Regions from separate parts of the Homo sapiens genome. Here all the other regions are linked to region 2. The links are contacts of gene promoters, found by promoter capture Hi-C in blood cells and fetal thymus (Javierre and others, 2016). All regions are on one chromosome and are shown on one strand. Each heading gives the region's core, a stretch centred on a gene start or on the middle of the fragment in contact. The rest is flanking DNA. Distances are from core to core; before and after follow the strand shown. Region 1 overlaps RPRD1B (regulation of nuclear pre-mRNA domain containing 1B). Region 2 holds the start of TGM2 (transglutaminase 2). Region 3 overlaps LOC149684 (a long non-coding RNA gene). Region 4 overlaps RPRD1B (regulation of nuclear pre-mRNA domain containing 1B).

Region 1 (2,700 bases), core at 2-2,501, 130 kb after region 2:
AAAGAAAAGAATTTAACTTACACCAAAGAAATTCTCAATTCACAATTCTTTTGCCCTGGGCTGCTCCTAAAAAAACATTAAGACAAGTATTATCTACCTGGGGGGTCAAGTAGATATGTTTAAAAAGACCACCTAAGGAATAGGTTTGGGAATACCATTTCGGAAAAAAAAAAAAGAAAAAGAAAAAGAATGGGCCATCTTCATTGCTGTGTTGTTTAAACCAGGGTAATTAATTGATAGTAAAAATTAAGATAATCCAAAGAGAATTCCTAAAGGATAAGCAGTCAGTGTTAATGTTGAAACTAGGGCTTTTATTTATTCTACTGCAAAAATGAGCAACTTCTAACTCACTTTTAATTATCAAATATTTCAGAATGAAAGACTGAGTTGGCCGGACGCAGTGGCTCATGCCTGTAATCTCAGCACTCTGGGAGGACGAGGTGGGTGGATCATTTGAGGTCAGGAGTTTGAGACCAGCCTGGCCAACATGGTGAAACCCTACCTCTACTAAAGATACAAAAATTAGCCGGGTGTGATGGTGGGCACCTGTAGTCCCAGCTACTCAGGAGGCTGAGGCAGGAGAATCGCTTGAACCCAGGAGGTGGAGGTTGCAGTGAGCCGAGATTGCACTACTGTACTCCAGCTTGGGCAATAGAGCAAGACTCTGTCTCAAAAAAAAAAAAAAAAGACTGAGTTAGGTTTCAATTTTAAAATGGTTTCGCCGAGCGTGGTGGCTCATGCCTGTCATCCCAGCACTTTTGGAGGCCGAGATGGACGGATCACCTGAGGTCGGGAGTTTGAGACCAGCCTGACCAACGTGGAGAAACCCCGTCTCTACTAAAAATACAAAATTTGCCTGGCGTGGTGGCACATGCCTGTAATCCCAGTTACTCAGGAGGCTGAGGTGGGAGAATCGCTTGAATCCGGGAGGTAGAGGTTGTGGTGAGCCTAGATCATGCTGTTGCACTCCAGCCTGGGCAACAAGAGCAAAACTCCGTCTCAAAAAAAAAAAAAAGGTTTCTTGTAATTTTGCTCCTAAACTGAGAATTTCTCTGATACTCCAATAACCATAATCAATAATATAGAAGAATCTCTAGGTGCACCAATAGATATTAGCTCAAATACAAGTATACATTAACACTACACTCTTATTGAAAATTTACACACGTGTGAAATCTAGATATGCAAAATTAGGGCTTTCACAAAAACCATAATTCTCTCTTATTTATATGAAATGTGGTTATTCCCTATTACTCTATATGGTATCATATATTAAACCATAAAAACCTCGTGCAATATGTCTGAGTTACAGTTGCTTTGGGGAACATTACTGAATTCCCTGGCTTCTATGCACATAATTTCTCAACTATAAAGTTACATCCCTACAATTTTTGGTTCCAATTTTCTTTTAAAAGAAATAAATAAGAACATAATTAGATGTTTCAAAACACAAAGTTTTCTCCAATGCTAAAGTACCTGAAAAACACAAGCTCTTTATCAACCTTAACACACCTGAGTAACTCTATTTCTCTCTGAAACCAGTTGTTTCTTTTGAAATGTACAAAGCATTGATATGTCTGACATAGCAGGCATAAGATCTGACATTTTAAAATGTAGCTACAGGAGGCTGGGCACAGTGGCTCACGCCTGTAATCCCAGCACTCCGGGAGGCCAAGGCAGGTGGATCACCTGAGGTCACGAGATCAAGGCCATCCTGGCTAACATGGTGAAACCTTGTCTCTACTAAAAATACAAAAAATTAGCCAGGCGTGGTGGCGGGCGCCTGTAGTCCCAGCTACTCAGGAGGCTGAGGCAGGACAATGGGGTGAGCCCAGGAGGCGGAGCTTGCAGTGAGCCGAGATCACACCACTGCACTCCAGTCTGGGTGACAGAGCAAGACTCTGTCTCAAAAAAAAAAAAAAAAAAAAAAAACAAAACAAAAAAAATCAGCCGGGCGTGGTGCCAGGCGCCTGTAAACCCAGCTACTTGGGAGGCTGAGGCAGGCGAATCACTTGAACCTGGGAGGCGGAGGTTGCAGTGAGCCGAGATCGCGCCAACTGCACTCCCACCTGGGTGACAGAGTAAGAGACTCCGTCTCAAAAAAAAAAAAAAAAATGTAGCTACAGGAGAGTAACCCAAGTTAAAAACATGATTTTAATAGCACATTACAGTTTAAACTGATGAAACTGATGTCTTAAATGCTCATAAAATTAAATATGGATACCCTGAATTGTCTTAACCTTCTGGTAATAACCTAGTTTAGATGGCCAACTGATAAGAATACTAGGAACCTGGAGCTTTCTTCAACTTTCTAATTATTATTCAAAAGCAGAACAAAAGTGTCAGTAGTTACAATATCTACTGTTGCTACAAAGGTATGATTATGGCAAAACGTGCTTTTTTGTTAAAGCAAACCTTGCTCTGCAAAGTTGATGTAAGTGAAACTACTACACCTATAATCCCATGCAAGTTAGCAGATTCGAAAGCAAAACAGAACTTCAACAAAGCAAATTTCATTAAGTGAAGCTTTAAAATTCCATACACTTTATGTTGAAAAAAAAAAAACCTAGAATCCATATTGTAAAATGTCAGTGTGGACATTCAAGACCTGATATATACTTCTCAGTAGACAAACAAGGTATCTAAGGGGCTTGAGACCCAAGGTTTTCACTGTTTACAATGCCAATTAATTTTCATCAC
Region 2 (2,700 bases), core at 1-2,500:
GCTCAGGGCTCACAGTGGATCCGGAAGCACAGGAGACCAAGAGACCAGAGATACCAGGATGAGAGATAGGACCCCTGGTTGCCAGGTTCGAGAAGTCCTAGGCTGAGTCCCTGGAAAGTTAGTCTTGCTCCTTTCTGGCACACAGTGGGGCCTCAAGAAAGCTCAGTGGATGGATGGATTGAGGGAGGGAGGGAAGAGAAGGCCGAGGGAGGGATGGATGAAGGGATGAGTGGATGGATAGGTGGGGGGGTAGGTGATGCATGGGTGAGTGGATGGATGGGTAGATGGATGGCTGATTAGATGGATGGCTGATTAGACAGATACAAGGATGGGTGAGATCGGAGGATTATCTGGGTTTTGCTACAGGAAGGGACATGGGTGTGTCTGTTTTTGCAGGTGTGTCTGCATGTCTGTACCTGAGTCCATGCCTGCATGTGTGTCTACCTCTGAGTAGCCACATCTTTGTGTGTCTGTGGGTGCCCTCTCTGATTTTGCGTCCACATCTGACAGTGGCATTGGTGTCTAGGAGGTCTGTGTGTGTGCCAGGTGCCTCTGGACACCTGCTCATCTGTGTCCACAGCTGTGTGTGGCTCGCGGTCAAGGCTACCTGGCTGTGTCAGGCTGTATCTATGTCCTGGTGTGTGTCTGCCATTCGAATCTGAATTTGTATCCATGTCACTGTGTCTGCGTGGCCAGCCGTGTTTGGTGTATCTGTGGGAGTGTATCTGTGTTTGTGTGTGTATCTCCACAGCCCTGTCTTGGTGTGTCTGCGTCTGCTCTCTGTGTATGTATATCTGAGTATGTGTGTGAGTGTGTGCGTGTGTGTGTGTGTGTGTGTGTGTGTGTGTTGGGGGTGGGGAGGTGTTCTTGATCCCAGATCTGACCTAAGAGTCCACATCTGTGTGTCCAGGTGCACCCCGGTTCCGTTGTGTGTTTCTATGAGGGTGCTGCGTGTGTCTGTATCTGAGTGTGTGTGTCCAGGTGTCTGTTCTCCAAGGTCTGAGTCTGTGGGTCCAGGTGTGTCTGTATCCTGGGCTAGTTGTGTGTCCCTGTCCGCTCCCCCAGGGGGCGCCCTCGTCCGGCCGCCGTCCCTCCCTCGGGCTCCGGTCCCCTGGGTGAGCCCCAGCGCTGGCGGCGTGGGCCCGGGACTGGGCAATGGGTGGCCTCCCAGGTCGCCGCCTTCCCGCGGGGCCCCGCCCCCGGCCCGCCCCAAAGCGGGCTATAAGTTAGCGCCGCTCTCCGCCTCGGCAGTGCCAGCCGCCAGTGGTCGCACTTGGAGGGTCTCGCCGCCAGTGGAAGGAGCCACCGCCCCCGCCCGACCATGGCCGAGGGTGAGTATCAGAGTCACCGCAGCCGCCACTCAGGGGCCCCGGGGCATTGGGGGTCAGGACCCGGTGGGAGCTGAATCCCTAAGTCCTGATTTGGAGAGCAACAGGCAGACCGGGCTGGGTGAGGAGGCGTCTCAATGCTGCTTGGAGCCTCAGTTTCCCCATCCACACTGCATAACCATTAACCCTTGCCTCCCTGGATCAGGTGAGGCAATGGAACGCGACGGGGTGTTGTAAACTGTAAAGTACTGTCCTGGCGGACCACTGGCACGTGTCCTCAGTCAGTCAGTGGGGGCTGGCTCTCTGATGTGTGCCTGGAGCTGTGCAGGGGGTGCTGGCCTGGCCTCAGAACACTTAGGTTTGGGTGGTTCTTGCCAGCCAGGACCAGGTGGTGTGCATGCCACGCCGGTGGTGTGCAAGCCAAGCCTGGCTGAGTCCTTGGCTCCAGCGGCCAGAGAGGAGCTTTCGGCATCCTATCCAGGAGCCTTCGGAAATCAGGCTTGTTCTTCCCGCCCTCACGTTCTGCAACCCTAGACCTTGGCCAATTGTTGAGTCTCACCTATAAAATAAGGACAACAGTGTCCTTATTTTATAGGACAAGGTTTATGAGATTTGTTTTCCCCCAAGACCCCCACCCATCTGTCACCCTGACCGTGCCCTGGTCCTCTGCTCCAGCCTTTGGTGCATCTGTGAGGAACGAGAGGAGTGGAACAGAGGCTTAACTAATTTCATACTGGTGCCCCTGACTCCCTCCCCACACACAAGCAGCACTCTCGTAGGTCCCAGCTGGAGGGATTTCTACAATGGAGGATGTCACTGCTGGACCCAGAATCCCAGCTGGCTCTTGGGTCAAGTTCATCTGGGGATGGCTTCTGCACCCATTGCAACCCCCAGGAAGGGGTGTGGGACAGGGACATGGGGCAGGTGGAGCAGGAATGGGTGGCAGGAACTGTGGACCCACCTGACCCTGCTGTGTGATCTCAGCCACCTGCCTCCCTCGGGCCCAGCTCCCAACACACTGTGATGTGTCGCCTCGGTGGCCGCTTGTCCTCAATGCATCTTCTCACCCCCATGCTCAAAAGCAGGGCTCAGTGGGGCTGGGAGATCCTGGAGATGCCAGTTATGATGAGCCTCCAGCCCCATGTCACAGTGGCCACTTCTGACAGAGGTCTCACTGGCCTAGAAGGCCTAGGCCCTTTCTAAGTGCAGAAATCCTATAAATCCTACAATTCTAGACCTGCATCTTTGGAGCTGGGCGTGATTTCTGGAAACCCTTCTTCGGACAACAGATGGAGAAAATGCCCCAGCTCCCACAGCCCAGGGACTGGCCGTATCTCCAGGGTCTTCCATGGGAACAACAATGGCCTCTTTC
Region 3 (2,737 bases), core at 103-2,602, 120 kb before region 2:
ATAAATTAACATCCCTGCTTCAATCATTGAGGCTGGGGGGTTTGATCAGGAAGGAGCATGCAGAGTGTCGGGGGTAACAGCAGTATTCTATTTCTTAAATGGATTGGTGAGTTCAAGGGTATTTATTGTTATTCTTCAGACTGTACATATATGCCTTTGTCTCTATGGCATGTTCCACAATAAAAATGAAAAAAATCCATAATTACTATCATTTCCTACAAAAGTAACACATCATTGTACCAATGTTAATGTCTTAGTTTTGATAAATGTCCTATGGTGATGTAAGATGTTAACATGAGGGGAACCGGAGAAAAGGAATACTGGAATTTTTCATACTGTCTTTGCAACTCTTCTGTAAAGCTAAAATTATTTCAAGATAAAACGCTGCTACAAAGCAATGCAGAAGCTGAAGCATGCAGAGCCTTGGAGGTCACTTTAAAGTGTTTGGGTTTTGTTCTCTGAGCAGTCGGGGGTCCCTGGAGGGTTTTCAAAAGGTGGGCAGGACCCAATGGGTGTGATAACATAAAATGCAACTTCTGAAGAATTTCAAATATTGTCATAGTTGTGGAGGCGGAACTTCCCTGTGGCCAGATGGAGATTGCTTTGACCACAGGCCTGTGCACCCCCGGGGTGAGGCCATGGCCCCTGCTAGGCGGGGACACGTGGAGGGGAGCCAGAGAGAACAGAGCATCCATTGATCAGCAGGACAGCTGTGGGGAGGGACAGATCCACGGGCCGTAGGAGGGACCCTGGGAGAGATGGGAAGGAAACGGAAGGATAGAAGCTGCCGGGGTGGGTCGGGGATTGGGAGGGAGGTCTGAGGGCTGAGAGAGGGCTTGGGAGCCCCCACTCCCTGCAAGCTTCCTGTGTCCCTCAGCCAAACCCTGAGCTTTCTCCCTCCTCAGGGCCCTTGCAGCCTGGCACCTCCTTACTCAGCAGATCTCCTACCCCACACCATGCACACACACCTGCCTCTCCTCCCTCCCTCTCTTCCTCTCCGCACCCAGAAGAGGCCCAACCCTCAACCTGCGGCCTTGCCCTCCTTTTCTGCATTTTTTTTTGTCTTTTCAGCTTACAAGATTTTTCATCATAAAATCAGATAAGACTCCCTCTAGATCCCAGGTTTCCCTCCAGCCACCACTCTGGACTCCCTGCTCAGCCAAAGCTCCTCAAAGCTGCACGTGTCTCCTGGTGACTCTCCACCCTCCATCCACTTCTTCTGCTCCCACCCACTTTCTACCCACAGGCCAACCCTGCCTTTGCCCATTGTGGACCTCCCCCGGGGCTGCTTTCTCCCTCTCCAGCTCCCTGGGCTCCTGAGGCCCTATAGACCCCTTTGCTTATCATCTCCCTCACTCGACGTAAGGCCAATGTTACGAGTTAAATTATGTCCCTCCTCTGAAAATTCCTATGTTGAATTCCCAACCCCCACAATATCACAGAATGTGACCTTATTTGAATAAATAGTCTTTACAAAGGAACCCACATTAAAATGAGGTCATTAGGGTAGGCCCTAATCCAATAGCCTGGTGTCCTTATAAAAAGGGGAAATGTGGGCACTCGTACATATGGCAAAGATGCCACGTGAACATGAAGACGGCCGCCCGCAAGTTAAGAAGCCAGCCTGCAACAGAGCCTCCCCTCACAGCCCTCAACATAACCGACCCCGTTGACACCTTGATTTCAAACTTCTAGCCCCCAGAATGGTGAGACAATACATTTCTCTTGCTTATGTGACTCCATCTGTAGCATTTTGTTATGGCAGCCCTAGGAAAAGAACCCAGCCCATGAGGGTGGCGAAGCTCTGTTCCCTTCACCATTTCCAGTGCCAAGAACAAAGCTTGATGCACAGTAGCAGCTTCGCAAATATCTGTGGGTTGGATATATGAAAAAACGTATTTCCAAACTCAGTGGACACTCCTTTTGATTATCCGATAATTATTTTTAAAACATATATTTATTAGAGGAATAGAAAAATGTGAGATTCAAAAAGTTAGTGAACAGTACATCCTTCCAGAGATGTTCTAGGACAGTATAAGCACAAGATTTTGTATTAGTCCATTCTTGCACTGCTATAAAGGAATACTTGAGACTGCATAATTTATAAAGAAGAGATATTTGGCTCACGATTCCACAGGGTGGACAGGAAGCAGGATGCTGGCATCTGCTTGGCTCCTGGGGAGGCCTCAGGAAACTTACAATCATGGTGGAAGGCGAAGGGGAAGCCAGCACTTCACATGGCTGGAGCAGGAGGAAGAGAAAGAGCAGGGAGGTGCCACACACTTAACCAGATCTTGTGAGAACTCACTCATTATACAGTACCAAGGGGGGATGGTGATAATCATTCATGGAAACTCTGCCCCCATGATCCGATCACCTCCCACCAGGCCCCACCTCCAACCCTGGGGATTACAATTCTACATGAGATTTGGTGGGAACAGAGATCCAAACCATATCAGCTATCGTGTGTTATGTAGTTGGGGGGCCTTTAAAAAGCTTCCACAAATCTTTGTGAATGAAACATACTGCTGAGAACTTCATGTTTACACTTTCTTTGTCTTGGGGATGCCAGCCTCAGATGGTCCCCAGGAATCCCTGCCTTCATGAATATCCCCTCCCACACTGGATAGGGCTGACCGTGCTAGGACATTGTGGAAATAGTGTGTGACTTCTGAGGTTAGGTCATGAGACACGGTGGCCCATGGTGCTCCCTCTGGGATCACTCGATCTGGGGGAG
Region 4 (2,700 bases), core at 200-2,699, 85 kb after region 2:
ATACCTCAAAATAATAAGAGCCATCTATGACAAACCCACAGCAAACATCATACTCAACAGGCAAAAGCTGGAAGCATTTCCCTTGAGAGCCAGAATAAGACAAGGATGCCCACTCTTGCCACCCCCGTTCAACACAGTACTGGAAGTCCTAGCCAGAGCAATCAAGCAAGAGAAAGAAATAAAAGGCATCCAAATAGGAAGAGAGGAAGTCAAACTATCTCTCGTTGCAGGCTATATGATTCCATAGCTAGAAAACCCCATAATGTCTACCCAAAGGCTCCTAGTTCTGATAACTTCAGCAAAGCTTCAGGACACAAAATCAATATACAAAAATCAGTAGCATTTCTATAGACCAATAATGTCCAAGCTGACAGCCCAATCAAGAACACAATTTCATTCACAAAAGCCACAAAAAGAATAAAATACAGCTAATCAGGGAGGTGAAAAATCTCGACAACAAGAATTACAAAACACTGCTCAAAGAAGTCAGAGACAACATAAACAAATGGAAAAACTTCTATGCTCATGGATAGGAAAAATCAATATTGTTGAAATGGCCATACTACCCAAAGCAATGTACAGATTCAATGCTATTCCTATCAAACTACCAAAGACATTCTTCACAGAATTAGGAAAAACTATTTTTGCATGCACAGCATCTACTAACAAAAACAAAACAAAGAGAAAACAATATTCTAAAATTGATTCTGAGCCAATAAAAAGCCCAAATAGCCAAAGCAATCCTAAGCAAAAAGAACAAAGCCCAGGGCATCACATTACCCAACTTCAAACTATACTATAAGGCTACAGTAACTAAAACAGCATGGAAATGGTACAAAAACAGATACAAAGACCAATGGAACAGGGTAGAGAACTCAGAAATAAAGCTGTACACTGGCTGGGCACGGTGGCTCATGCCTATAATCCCAGCACTTTGGGAGGCTGAGGCAGGTGGAGCACCTGAGGTAAGGAGTTCGAGACCAGGCTGGCCAACATGGGGAAACCCTATCTCTACTAAAAATACAAAATAAGCCAGGCGTGGTGACGCATGCCTATAATCCCAGCTACCCGGAAGGCTGAGGCAGGAGAACTGCTCAAATCTGGGAGGCGGAGGTTGCAGCAAGCCGAGATCGTGCCACTGCACTCCAGCCTGGGAGACAAAGAGAGACTCAAGACTCAAAAAAATAAATAAATAAATAAAGCTGTACACCTACAAGAATCTGATCTTTGACAAAGCTGATGATAACAAGCAATGGGGAAAGTATTCTCTATTCAATAAATGGTGCTGGGATAGCTGGCTATCCATATGCAGAAGATTAAAACTGGACCCATTCCTTTTACCATATATAAAAACCAACTCAAAGTGGATCAAGACTTAATGTAAAACCTCCAACTACAAAGACCCTAGGAGAAAACCTAGGAAATACCATGCCGGACACCGGCCCTGGCAAAGACTCCAAAAGTAACTGCAACAAAAACAAACTGAAAAGTAAAATCTAATTAAACTAAAGAGCTTCTACACAGCAAAAGAAACTATCAACAGAGCAAAAAGACAACTTACAGAATGGGAGAAAATATTTGCAAACTATGCCACCATCAAAGGCCTAATATCTACAATCTATGAGGAACTTAAGTCAATAAGCAAGTAACAAAAAACCCCATTAAAAATAGGTAAAGGACACAAACTGACACTTTTCAAAAGAAGACATACATGCAGCCAACAAGCATATTTAAAAAGCTCAGTATCACTAATCATTAGAGAAATGCAAATCAAAACCACAATGAGATACCATCTCATACCAATCAGAATGGCTATTAAAGAGTCAAGAAATAACAGATGCTGGGGAGGTTGTGGGGAAAAAGGAACACTTATAAAGGGCTAGTGAGAATGTAAATTAGTTCAGCTACTGTGGAAAGCAGTCTGGAGATTTCTCAAAGAACTTAAAACAGAACAACCATTCAACCCAGCAATCCCAATACTGGGTATATAACCAAAGGAATATAAATTATTCTACCATAAAGACACATGCATGCCTAAGTTCATCACAGCACTATTCACAATAGCAAAGACATGGAATCAACCTAGATGCCCATCCACAGTAGACTGGATAAAGAAAATGAGTACATATATACCATGGAATACTATGCAGCCATAAAAAAGAATGAGATCACGTCCTCTGCAGCAACATGGATGAGGCAAACCAAATACCGCATGTTCTCACTTATAAGTTGGGAGCTAAACATTGAGAACACATGAACTCAAAGAAGGGAAAAATAAGACACCCGGGACTACTTGAGGGTGGAGGATGGGAGGAGGGTGAGAACTGAAAAACTACCTATCAGGTACAATGCCAATTACCTGGATGACAAAATTATCTGTACGCCAAATACCTGTGACACACAATGTACCCATGTTAACAAACCTGAACCCCCTGAATAAAATAAATAAAAGTTGGAAAGAAAAAAAAAAAAAGAAAATCCAAGTTCCTATCCTACACTTCCATGTGCCTAGGATATAACATGTGACAAACTCACTGGGCTCCTATGTATGAGATGGGAATGAAAACAACGCCTATGGCACGGGGGAAGCTTGGGTGAGAACAGGCACTTGCTAAACTGTTCCATTTGAATCGACAGATCTGATGGAGAAAGAACACTCACCCCTCCCATATTCTATTATTTTATGAGCAATACTTAATC

The links. Contacts are between HindIII fragments. The CHiCAGO score rates a contact against its expected background, and 5 or more counts as called.
Region 1: a fragment that was not itself captured here is called in contact with the fragment with the promoter of TGM2 in region 2 in 6 of 17 cell types (M1 macrophages, neutrophils, M0 macrophages and 3 more); the score reaches 8.8 in M1 macrophages.
Region 3: a fragment that was not itself captured here is called in contact with the fragment with the promoter of TGM2 in region 2 in 1 of 17 cell types (monocytes); the score reaches 6.3 in monocytes.
Region 4: a contact is called between a fragment that was not itself captured here and the fragment with the promoter of TGM2 in region 2, in 7 of 17 cell types (monocytes, M0 macrophages, M1 macrophages and 4 more). The highest score is 12.3, in monocytes.

The regions. Positions count from the first base shown.
Region 1 is chr20:38,037,723-38,040,422 of GRCh38, reverse strand. The region is part of intron 1 of RPRD1B (regulation of nuclear pre-mRNA domain containing 1B); the gene reads right to left. It overlaps LOC124904898 (a long non-coding RNA gene), which reads right to left. Exons shown (of 2, transcript XR_007067579.1): 2 at 2,316-2,700. Among named protein-coding and RNA genes, the nearest start is that of RPRD1B, 5.3 kb to the right of the region's middle. The HindIII fragment of the contact is 2,555 bases long and covers 1-2,528 here.
Region 2 is chr20:38,163,820-38,166,519 of GRCh38, reverse strand. It overlaps TGM2 (transglutaminase 2), which reads left to right and starts at 1,250. Exons shown (of 13, transcript NM_004613.4): 1 at 1,250-1,331. The coding sequence starts at 1,322. RefSeq lists a silencer at 958-1,397. The HindIII fragment of the contact is 3,789 bases long and covers 1-2,700 here.
Region 3 is chr20:38,285,216-38,287,952 of GRCh38, reverse strand. The region is part of intron 1 of LOC149684 (a long non-coding RNA gene); the gene reads right to left. Among named protein-coding and RNA genes, the nearest start is that of BPI, 18 kb to the left of the region's middle. RefSeq lists an enhancer at 833-1,334. The HindIII fragment of the contact is 980 bases long and covers 863-1,842 here.
Region 4 is chr20:38,079,021-38,081,720 of GRCh38, reverse strand. All of the region lies in intron 6 of RPRD1B (regulation of nuclear pre-mRNA domain containing 1B), which reads right to left. Among named protein-coding and RNA genes, the nearest start is that of RPRD1B, 47 kb to the right of the region's middle. The HindIII fragment of the contact is 2,285 bases long and covers 307-2,591 here.